4 separate regions of the Homo sapiens genome follow, and regions 2, 3 and 4 are each linked to region 1. The links are contacts of gene promoters, found by promoter capture Hi-C in blood cells and fetal thymus (Javierre and others, 2016). All regions are on one chromosome and are shown on one strand. Each heading gives the region's core, a stretch centred on a gene start or on the middle of the fragment in contact. The rest is flanking DNA. Distances are from core to core; before and after follow the strand shown. Region 1 holds the start of TRMT10B (tRNA methyltransferase 10B). Region 2 has its middle 130 kb from the start of ALDH1B1. Region 3 overlaps LOC107987065 (a long non-coding RNA gene). Region 4 has its middle 6.0 kb from the start of ALDH1B1.

What was found. Contacts are between HindIII fragments. The CHiCAGO score rates a contact against its expected background, and 5 or more counts as called.
Region 2: a fragment that was not itself captured here is called in contact with the fragment with the promoter of TRMT10B in region 1 in 2 of 17 cell types (M0 macrophages and M2 macrophages); the score reaches 6.3 in M0 macrophages.
Region 3: a contact is called between a fragment that was not itself captured here and the fragment with the promoter of TRMT10B in region 1, in 1 of 17 cell types (M2 macrophages). The highest score is 5.8, in M2 macrophages.
Region 4: a fragment that was not itself captured here is called in contact with the fragment with the promoter of TRMT10B in region 1 in 2 of 17 cell types (endothelial precursors and M0 macrophages); the score reaches 7.8 in endothelial precursors.

What each region holds. Positions count from the first base shown.
Region 1 is chr9:37,752,240-37,755,100 of GRCh38, forward strand. TRMT10B (tRNA methyltransferase 10B) reads left to right here and starts at 1,566. Exons shown (of 9, transcript NM_144964.4): 1 at 1,566-1,613. RefSeq lists a silencer at 1,476-1,710. The HindIII fragment of the contact is 5,639 bases long and covers 1-2,861 here.
Region 2 is chr9:38,265,202-38,268,177 of GRCh38, forward strand. No RefSeq gene overlaps it. Among named protein-coding and RNA genes, the nearest start is that of ALDH1B1, 130 kb to the right of the region's middle. The HindIII fragment of the contact is 4,197 bases long and covers 1-2,976 here.
Region 3 is chr9:38,335,023-38,338,070 of GRCh38, forward strand. The region is part of intron 1 of LOC107987065 (a long non-coding RNA gene); the gene reads left to right. Among named protein-coding and RNA genes, the nearest start is that of ALDH1B1, 56 kb to the right of the region's middle. The HindIII fragment of the contact is 4,341 bases long and covers 1-3,048 here.
Region 4 is chr9:38,385,360-38,388,087 of GRCh38, forward strand. No RefSeq gene overlaps it. Among named protein-coding and RNA genes, the nearest start is that of ALDH1B1, 6.0 kb to the right of the region's middle. The HindIII fragment of the contact is 5,209 bases long and covers 1-2,728 here.

The DNA.
Region 1 (2,861 bases), core at 316-2,815:
CCCAGACGAGCACTGACCCCTGCTCCACGGCACCCGGTCCCATCGACCGCCCAAAGGCTGAGGAATGTGGGCACACGGCGAGGGACTGGCAGGTAGCTTCACCTGCGGCCCCAGTGCTGGATCCACTGGATGAAGCCAGCTGGGCTCCTGAGTCCAGTGGGGACTTGGAGAACCTTTATGTTTAGCTAAGGGATTGTAAATACACCAATGAGCACTCTGTATCTAGCTCAAGGTTTGTAAATGCACCAATCAGCACTCTGTGTCCAGCTCAGGGTTTGTGGATGCACCAATCGGCACTCTGTGTCTAGCTAATCTGGTGGGGACTTGGAGAATCTTTATGTATAGCTAAGGGATTGTGAATGCACCAATCGGCACTCTGTATCTAGCTCAAGGTTTGTAAATGCACCAATCAGCACTCTGTGTCTAGCTCAGGGTTTGTAAATATACCAATCAACACTCTGTGTCTAGCTAATCTAGTGGGGACTTGGAGAACTTTTGTGTCTAGCTCAGGGATTGTTAACGCACCAATCAGCACCCTGTCAAAACGGACCAATCAACTCTCTGTAAAACAGACCAATCGGCTCTCTGTAAAGTGGACCAATCAGCAGGATGTGGGTGGGGCCAGATAGGAGAATAAAAACAGGCTGCCCGAGCAAGCAGCGGCAACCCGTTGGGGTTGCCTTTCTGGACTGTGGGTGCTTTGTTCTTTGTAATAAATCTTGTTGCTTGCTAACCCTTTGGGTCCCTACTGTCTTTGTGAGCTATAACACTCGCCGTGAAGATCTGTATTTGCAGCTCTTTCTTGAGGCCCGTGTGACCACGAACCCACCGAGAGCGAAGGAACAACTCCAGGTGTGCCCTCTTAAGAGATTTAACACTCATTGCGAAGATCTGCAGCTTCACTCCTGAAGCTAGCGAGACCATGAACCCGCCAGAAGGAAGAAACTCCAGACACGCAGTCTTTAAGAATTGTAACACCGCGATGGTCCGCGGTTTCATTCTTGAAGTCAGTGAGACCAAGAATCCACCATTTCCGGACACAATATGATATCAGGTTGGAATTTGATATTTTAGTTCTACAAAGATTCTGTTGTGTCAGTCCCCGTTGGGCCTAAACTCCGCAAGGGATGGGATATAATATCAGTGCATGTCCAACCGCCCCGCTCCACTCCCGCTTCCTGTAATGGCCATAACTAGTTTTTAAGGTTTCCTTCGGCAGAGAGGGAGGTCCATTCAGTCGGGTGCGGGCCTTAGAATTTTTTTGCTTCACACACCCCAGTTTCGCAATGTCCAGCCCTTGACAACCAACAGAGCACCTGTAGGAGCCCTGTGAAGTTGGTAAAGGGTTGGGGTTGTAATAGCTGTCCAGCAGACGGGGAGACAGGGGTTCAGAGAAGGTGGGCAACCACCACAGCAGGACGCAGCTCCCTACCGCCAGGGCTGGGAGTAGAAGCCGCAGCCTCCGCTCCGGCTCGGCCCCACGAGCACCCTGCAGGTGAAAAACTACAATTTCCAGAATGCCATTCGGAGCGGAGTTACGAAGCGGAAGCGAGGCCGGGGGCGGGGGGGATCCGATGCGCGCCGCTGCCGCTGCGTGGGGGTGAGGGGATCAGGTACGCTGTCCGCTGGTTAAGGGGGCTGGCTGGGGGCTGCGGGGTCTGTCCTGGGACGTCCGCCTCCCTCGCGGGTGGGGCGGACGTTGAGAAAGCAGCGTTTAGCAGTCATGTGGCCTGTGGTACTCCACCTTCCTGATACTTTCCCTTCCTGCTTCCACTCGCACGCTCAGCCTGTGGGCCGGGAGAGACCCGCAGGCGGGGTGCTCTCAGGCTGAATTCGATGTGCCATCACTTAGCGGCAGTGTAGGTACCCATCAGGTGGGAGTTAGGCTAGCAAAGGTCTGAGGCCTCTGCCAACCTAGGGTGGGGGTGCGGAGTGGAGGATTTATGAACTCAGCAAGTATTTATTAAGCATCTATAAGCAAACAACACTTGCCTACATTGAAGGGATGGAGGAGGTTCCGACAACAAGTAAAATAGGTTATGTTGGATAGTAATATGAATGAGGAGAGGAAGGTAGTCTGTGAGTGTCTTAGGGAAGAGCATTGAGGGTAAAGAGAACGGCGAATGTAAAGGCCTTGAAGGGTATGTTTGAGGAACAGCAAATAGACCCCGGAGTGCAGAGGAAACGAGAAAGGTAGACCTTAGTGATCTGCATAGGTCATTGTATGGATTTGGGCTATTTACTGTCAGTGAAATGGAGAGTACTGCAGGGTTCTAAGCAGAAGAGTGGTGATCATCAAATACTTAGGATGCTCACAGGGCTCGGGTACTGAGGGTGTACAGGTGAATTCTTCCAATTCTTCCCTGGGTTTATAATCTAGTGGGGAAACAGGTAGACAGCTGTCATGCAAGGCAGGGTCAGATAATTGGAGCCCCATGAAAGCAGAACGAATGTCATCCCCAAGTCCCCAGGATGTACTATTATGTCAGGTGCTTAGTAGCTTTGTTGAACGAAAGTAATGAATATTCAGCATCGGACCCATAATTGGAGGCTCAGAAAAGATGTTTAATGAAGAAATGAAAAATAAATGAAATCTCACTTCTTGATACTGTTACAATGGCAATTAAGTTTCAACCTGAATGTGAGAAGGGGACAAACATTCAAACCAGAGCAGCACTCAAATTCATAAGATAGGAAATACAAAGGTGCTGCCAGGATTGGGGAAGGGAGAGTTATATAAAGGTCACAGGGTCGGGTGTGGTGGCTCACGCCTGTAATCCTAGCACTTTGGGAGGCCCAGACAGGTGGGTCGCGAGGTCAGGAGATCGAGACCATCCTGGCTAAAATGGTGAAACTCCGTC
Region 2 (2,976 bases), core at 1-2,500, 510 kb after region 1:
AAGTTTTTTTTTTGTAAACCGCATGGTAATCACAATGCAAACCCTATAGTGAGTTCACTAAAAATAAAAAATGACAAATTAGGCTGAGCGTGGTGGCTCACACTTGTGATCCCAGCACTTTGGGAGGCCGAGGTGGGTGGATCACCTGAGCTCAGGAGTTCAAGACCAGCCTGGCCAACATGGCAAAACCCTGTCTGTACTAAAAATACAAAAATTAGCCAGATGTGGTGGCAGGTGCCTGTAATCCCAGGTACTTGGGAGGCTGAGGCAGGAGAATCACTTGGACCTGGGAGGCAGGGGTTGCAATGAGTTGAGATTGCACCACTGTACTCCAGCCTAGGAGACAGAGCAAGACTCTGTCTCCAAAAAAACCAACAAAAACAAATTAAAACATACTGCCAGAGAAGATCACTGAACCACAAAGTAAGGCAGTAAGAAATGAAGAAAGGAAGAGAAGAGTTACAAAACAATCAGAAAACAAGCAACAGAATGACAGTAGTGAGTCCTTAGTTGTCAATAATAGTACTAAATATAAAGGAACTCAATTCTCCAATTAAAAGGAAGAGAGTGGCTGAATGGATAGAAATGAGATCCAACTATATGCTGCCTACAAGAAACCCACCTGTAAAGATAGACTGAAAATGAAGGGGTAAAAAAAGAGTCCGTACAACTGGAACCAAAAAAAAAAAAAAAAAAGCAGAAGTAGCTATAGCTATAGTTAGATAAATAGACTACAAGTCAGTCAAAGATTGTAAAAAGAGACAAAGAAAGTCACTATATAATGATAAAGGGGTCAGTTTCTCAAGCAGATGTAACAATTTTAAATATGTAGGCACTCAACACCAGAGATCCCAAATATGAAAAGCAATCTAAAGCAAGAGATAGATTGCAATACAATAATAGTAGGGGACTTTAACACCCCACTCTCAGTGATGGAAAGATCATTCAGATTCTCTACAATAAATTTTTTAAATTAGCTGGGTACGGTGGTGCATGCCTGTAGTTCTAGGTACTTAGGAGGTTGAGATGGGAGGATCACTTGAGCCCAGGAGTTCAAGGCTTCAGTGAGGTAAGATTACACTACTGCACTCCAGCCTGGGTGACAGAGTGAGACTGTCTCTTAAAAAACAAAAATAAACAAAGCCGAAGAATTAATGCCAATTCTACTCAAACTCTTCAAAAAAATAGAGGAGGAATACTTCCAAACTCATTCTATCTATGAGGCCAGCATTACCCTGATATCAAAACCAGACAAGGATACAGCAAGAAAAGAAAACTGTAGGCCAATATTTCTGATGAACCAAGATGCAAAAATTCCCAATAAAATACTAGCAAACCAAATTCTACAACACACTAAAGAGATCATTAACCATGATCAAGTGGGATTTATCCCCGGTATGCAAGGATGGTTCAACATACACAAATCAATAAACATAATACATGACATTCACAGAACCAAGAACTAAGAATGAAAAACATATGACTATTTCAATAGATGCCAGAAAGGCATTTGATAAAATTCAACATCCATTTATGATAAAGACCTTCATCAAACTGGGAATGGAAGGAATATACCTCAAAATAATAAAGGTCATATATAACAAATCCATAGCCAACATTGTTCTGAACAGGGAAAAATTGAAGGCCTTTCCTCTGAGATCTGGAACAAGACAAAGATGCCTATTTTTTACCACTTTTATTCAACGTAATACTGGAAGTCCTGGCCAGAGCAAGTAGGCAAGAGAAAGAAATAAAGGGCATCCCAATTGGAAAGGAAGAAGTCAGATTAGCCTTGCTCTCAGACAACAGGATCTTATATTTAGAAAAACCTAAGGACTCCACCAAAAAAACTGTTAGAACTGATAAATGAATTCAGTAATGTTGCAGGATACAAAATCAGCATACAAAATTCAGTAGCATTTATATATGCCAACAGTGAATAATCTGAGAAAAATTGAGAAATCTGTTTACAATAGCTATAAAGAATATAAAATACGCAGAAATCAATTTAGCCAAAGAACTGAAACATCTATACAAGGAAAACTATAAAACACTGATGAAAGAAATTGAAGAGGACACCAAAAAATGGCAAAATATTCCATGCTCATGGATTGGAAGAATCTGTATTGAAATGACAATACTACCCAAAGCAATTTACAGATTCAATGCAATGCTTATCAAAATACTAATGACATTCTTCAAGAAATAGGAAAAAAAATCCTAAAATCTATATGGAAATTCAAAAGACCCTGAATAGCCTAAACAATTCTGAGCAAAAAGAACAAAGCTGGAGGCCTCACACTACCTGACTTCAAAACTTACTGCAGGCTGGGCAGGGTGGCTCACGCCTTTAATCCCTGCACTTTGGGAAGCCAAGGTGGGCAGATCACCTGAGGTCAGGAGTTCAAGACCAGTCTGGCCAACATGGCAAAACCCTGTCTCTACTAAAAATACGAAAATTAGCCGGGCATGGTGGTGCGTGCCTGTAATCCCAGTTACTCAGGAGACTGAGGCAGAAGAATTGCTTGAACCCTGGAGGCGGAGGTTGCAGTGAGCCGAGATCATACCACTGTACTCCAGCCTGGGCAACAGAGCCAAACTCTGTCTCAAAAACAAACAAAAAACTTACTGCAAAGCTATAGTGACCAAATTAGCATGGTACTGGCTATACAGATAGGTACAGATACATACATGGAACAGATCAGAGCACCCAGATATAAATCCATGCATTGTCAGTCAAGAACATGCAATAAATATCTTTTCAATATATGAGGCTGGGAAAACTGGATAACTATATGCATAAGAATGAAACTTGTCTGGGTGCAGTGGCTCACACCTGTAATCCCAGCACTTTGGGAGACCAATGCAGGCAGATATCTTGAGCCCGGGAGTTTGAGACCAGCCTGGGCAACATGGCAAAACTTCAACTCTACAAAAAAAAAAAAAAAAAAAAAAAAATTGGCCAGGTGTGGTGGC
Region 3 (3,048 bases), core at 475-2,974, 580 kb after region 1:
AGAACTCAGCAGCCATCCTGTACTGTGAAGTGGCTTTGGGGATGGAAGCTACATGTGGCAGAAGAACAAGACAGAAAGAGTCTGAGCCCCTGATACTATGTCTTTTCCTTACTTGTCTTGAACTGCCTCCTCTGCACACTTTTATGTGAGAGAAAAATATACCTTTATCTTGGTTTAGCCACTATTATGGAGGCTCTATTTGCAACCAAATCTAATATTAAGTGATATGCAACTCAGGTTAGGGGCAGAAGAAGGAGCTGGGGTGAAAACATCTCAAGAAACACAAAACAATAGCTGTGAGGGTGGCCCAGTGTCTCCCTTCCTGCCCTGGCCATTAGGAACCTCTCAGCTGTCTGGAGGTGTCCAGCCACCATGCTCCCTTCAGCCTCATTCTCTAATGTCCTCCTTTTCCATTCTGTGGTTAGTACCAATCCTGAGAAAAGTATAGCCAGGGTATAAAATAAGAACTACTTTCCAACAATGTACTTCACGAAGCCCTTGTCCCCTGAGGTGTTCTGGAGTAAAAACGGATTTATGGTCAACAATTTGGGGCGGGGTGGGGGGAGGATACTGCCTACTCCCCCATTAGAGATGCATAAAGCACATTAGCATATTAAAGGCTCTGAAAAGCCTTTAAGTTAAACCTAATTAATTTTCTTGAATACAGCTATTCCCCCAACTTTATTTTACTGTAGAAACCTTTCTCCCCATACAACACCTACTAACATCCTATAGGGAAAGATGCTTTGGGAAAGGTGGGATTAGATAAATAATCACAAAAGTATAGTAGCTGTGACCTTGGAAACTGCTTGGGTGAGCAGGTGTTTTAGCAGCATGGCTCCTGTTTAAACAATTACCCACCAGCCATGAGGATACATTTGGTGCTGGTTTTACTTGGATCAGGACATCCTAGCTGTGGCCAAGGTGGAGCCTTGACCTCCATTGTTCTAGACTCCATGTTTTAATGTATACAAAGGCAATCTATTTCCTTTGTCTCTGTTGTAGGAAGGTTAGGGACAGCTCCAAGTCTGTTTTTGGGTGGGATCGGTAATTGTTTAAACCCCGAAGAAGAGAAAGGATTCCTGTTTGCTGTTCCTGCAGGCTCAAACCTGCCTTTCGCATACAGACCAAAGACAGGATGAGACTCAAAGCAAGAGGCAGCCACATCAACATGGGAAGAGATGCTCTTTGTAGTCTTGGCCAGATGGAAGCCAGAGTCCCCCATGAGTTAGAACCCCCTCCAGTCACCTGAGAAATGTGAGCCTTGAATCTTATGGCCAAGCAGGCTGTCATTGCGTACTACAGATCCATGCAAGCAGATTTCCGTGGGTCTGCTGAAGTCTGGGGAACCTGTCCTGTAGACCGGGAGGAGGTTTCCTGTTATGTTTTTCCTGGCCTGGGAGCATGACTTGGGATTGCTGGCTGGTGTATCCCCTGCAAACTGACAGACCCAGGGCTGCCAAAGGGAGGGACTGAGGACAGAGTGAGGGGGAGAAATCCCCAAGGCCCGTCTGTGGGGAGAGTCCCGTTCCCTTCTGTCACAGAGACAGGCCAGCAGGCGCCTCCTGCTGCTCCAGCAAATCGAAAACCTCTCTCTCCTGCTATCCCCCAGATGCACAGACCCTTCGAGATCCATCCCAGACACAGCATGGACTGGCCTAAACCTGGTACACCAGCATTTCACTCCAGAGCTGTCCTTTCTTGCCTGTGTGGCCTCGGGAAAGTGCTTGACTTCCCCGGACCACAGAACATAGGTAATGAGGAGGATTAAATGAATGAGAGCTCCGCGTGAATACATCAATGGTGCGGCACGCGCTGTGGGGGATTCACATAGACATTTTAAAATGCTGCCCCTGCCTTGCGTCCAGCTTTTTCTGATTCTTCTAAAGTAAACTTTCATATTCCCAGGCCTTTCTTAAATATGACTTGGTTTATCAAGAAAGTGAGACTTTCTCACCCTTTCCACTGTGGACGTAAGACCCCTGTATCTGAAACTGAACTGAACGTAGCCATCAGAGATACTTCGGAGGCAATTTTGGAATCAGTTTTGATTAGTTCAAGAAGTTATTCTTGGACATGATCTCTGTGAATTATGTTTTCAGGGAAGTTGGGATTTTTTGTTTTGTTTTGTGTTGTGGTTTTTCATGAATGTGCTTCCATCTTAATTCGGCAAAAGATTATCCTGGACCAAGGGCAATTCATTCTCCTTTTGCTGTGGGGATTTCCAGAACAAAGAGATATCGAGTCCCAAACTGGACTGACTTCATAGATGGCAGAAGGAGAGAGAGCCAGCAGGATAGCAAGAAAGGGGGTGGGGAGAGAGAAAGAGAAAAGAGCACGCGCGCCAGCCTCAGACAATGAGTGGGGAGAGTTGAGAAGAGAAAAAGGGAGAGATTGGTTTTCAGATCTGTCCTGAACCTCTAAATTTTATTCATAGAAGTCAGAGCCAGCCTCGGTTGTAAAAGCAGCAGTTAACGTAACTAAGGCCTTCTGTCTGAGGCTTCCTCAAGCTCCTTGGTGGATCAGTGGCTTATGTGCTGTAGGAAAGAGATCAAGCCCTGTTTGAATACAGAAATTGCTTTCTCACCCTTTCTTGGTAATAAAATCCAGAAACAGAAACTGGCATGGGAGTAGGTTTCAGCATTCCTGTTGCACGGGACACTGACAGTTCTCCATTCTCCGATGTGGATCCCTCCTCCCCGTCCCCAGCACGGTCATATTTCTCAAATGCAAATGGAACCAGGGGACCTCTGCATTAAACCCTTTGAGCTCTCTTACTGCCACAGAAAGTGAAATCCACCCCTTGAGGACTGTCCCCTCAGTGTCTCACTGCAGATCCTGAAGGTCCCAGGGGAAGAAGACCCCTCCAAGCCTAAGCGCAGCAGGTCCCTGGCCCTGCCACACCTCTAGGGGATCCCACATCTACTCACCAGCCCCAGTACAGGTCAGGACATACAGGCCCATCAGGAACCCCAGAGAGGCCCAGACACTTTGAGGTCATTTAATGTGTAATACACATTAGCATAGCAACGGCTCTGAGAAGTCCTG
Region 4 (2,728 bases), core at 46-2,545, 630 kb after region 1:
GACTGAGAAGCATCCTGTGTCACTTCTGTGCCTCCTCAGGATACATCCAAACTCCTTAGCAAGGCACTTCAGGCCTTTCATGATCTTGGCATGATCTATGGCTCCAGACTTGGCTCTCAATGGCCCCCACTTATCCCATCACAGCCCAGGCACCAGCCAGGAGGAGGTTCTTACTGCACCCAAAGCCACAGGGCTCCCTCTCATTTCTGACCTTTGGCACATGCAGCTCTGTCTTCCAGAAATGCTGTTTCTCCCCTTGATTCAGCTTTCAAGAATCAGGTCAAGCATCAGCTCCTCCAAGAAGCCTCCCCTGACCTTCCCAGGCTTTGTGTAGTTGTTTTGTCCCATTTCCTGTTTCTCTGCTCTCTTGGCACCACTCTCTGGGTTCTCTTTCTCACACTGTGTGAGGGAAACATGCCAGTCTCCATGTCTGTCTGCCTCCCCAGTCTGTGAGTTGCCAGAGGACAGGTATGATGTCTTATTTGTCTCCACACGGCAGGGCCTGGCATAGGTGGGTCAGCAGTAACAGGAGCTGAGTGAAAGAAGGAATGATGAGTGGCAGATGCTTGCTGATGTGGACACTGCTGGGCCTGACAAGGGACTGTGCTGGGGAAACTGTCTTTGAACCAGAAAGAACTAGCTAGAGACAGAGAGGCAAAGTGGAAAGCAAGGGTAATCAGCGCTCACTGCAGCTCCCATACTCTGGTCACCTAGGCATCAGCCCTGTGGATCCAAAAAGCCTTTGCGCCCTCCTTGGCAGATCTGCCCTGCTGTCATGGATGGTAGGGCAGCATTTCAGGCTCGCTCCATCAGCAAGTGTATGAAGATACACTGGGTCCCTGCCAATACTTTGTACTTCAACCATTGCCTTATAGTGGCCCATAACCAGCCATAACAGGATGGGAAAGTCAATTGACTGGGTTTAACAAATAGCATGCATTTAGGCTCCAACATTTGTGGCCCAAGGACTCTGCTGCCAATGAACAAATGAACACTATGTAACAGCTTTACTACAACTTTCTGGGGCTTCAGTCTCCTAGAGGCCCTTGTGTCCTTCTCCTCCTATACCCCTCTTTTTACAGTGGCGATGACTGAGGCCCAGAGGGAGGTAGGTGGTGGCTCAAGGTCACACAGAAAGGCTGGAACCAGCACCCAGGCTCTGATAGCCTGCCAGTGCCCTTTGCACCAACTCTACTAGGTTTGGTGAGGGCTATTCAATAATTAACCGTGGATTCTGAGAAAGACATGGACCCCTCGGGCCCAATCATGAGGTCATAAAAGAACAGATTCATTACACAGTGTTTGAGCCCAGAGGACACTTGCTATTGACTTGGTAACATAATCTTTTTTTTTTTTTTAACTTTTTATTACCAGAAATTTTAAATATACACAAAAATAGACATTATAATGAACCCCTTTGTGCCAGCAGCTGCCAGCGTAAGTAATTATGAACACCTGCTGTTCTTGGTAACATAACTTGGAATCTTATTTCCTCCTTGGAAACTGGAGGAGACACACACTATAAAACACTATAACCAGAATGATCATTTCAAATTGCAAACTGGATTGTGTCAACCGCCCTTCCTTCTCCCTCAAGACCCTTTAATAGAATCCTCTGGTCCTGGGATGAAGATGGAGCAGAGCTCCTACCCCAGACCTGGACAGCTGTCTCTAGACTTCTTTTAAGTGAGAGAAAAGTACACTTCTCTTGTTTAAGCCACTTTTATTTTGGGTTTTCTCTGATGTCAGTAGTTCTCAAAACTGGCTACACAATGGAATCAATGGAAGAGCTTAAACACAAAACAAAACAACAACAAAACCAGATAACCCAGAACAACACCCAGGGACTCCTAGCAATGTGGAGTGTTGCTCAGGTGTTTCCAAAGACTCTCCCAGGTGGTGCTGATCCACAGGCATAGTTGAGAACCACTGTTTCATCATATGCATCCAATCTAACTCTAACTGGTACAGGCTCGGCTGAAAGGTCATCTTCTCCCAAGAAGTCTGGGGAGGAACTCAGGGCTGCCTCTTCTGTTTCCACAGAGCTTGGTGCTAATCTTTATTAAGTGTATCAGGCTGGGCATAGTGACTGATGCCTGTAATCCCAACACTTTGGGAGGCTGAGTCGGGAGGATTCATTGAGCCCAGGAGTTTGAGACCAGCCTGGGTAATATGGGTGAGACCCTATCTCTAAGAAAAATTTTAAAATTAGCCGAGTGTGGTGGAGGTCAGAAACTCAAAGTGTCTCCTTGGACTAAAATCAAGGTGTTGGCAGGGACGAGTTTCTTCTAGAGACACTGGGGGAGAAGCCTGTCCCTTGCCTTTTCCAACTGCTTGCATTTGTTGTCTTGTGACAGCATCACCTGACCTCTGCTTCCATCCCCACATCTCTTTCTCTGACTCCTGTTTCCCTTCGATAAGGACCCTTGTGATTACATTAGGCCCTGGCTATACAATCTAGAATAATCTCCCACCTCCAGATCATTAACTACAATATCCTCTTTTGCCATGTAAGGTAATGTCTTCATAGGTACCAGGTGTTAGGACATTGACGTCTTTAGGGGCCATTATTCTGCCTACCACAATCAGTGTACATAAGGTGAAGCAATAGGGAGTGGTGAGGCCTGTGGCAAACTGGAAAATGAAAGCCCTGCCTAAAGGGGGCAGCTACTACGTGCATCTCTAGTTGAGCCACTGTTCCATATCCACGTGCAGGCCTGATAGTACT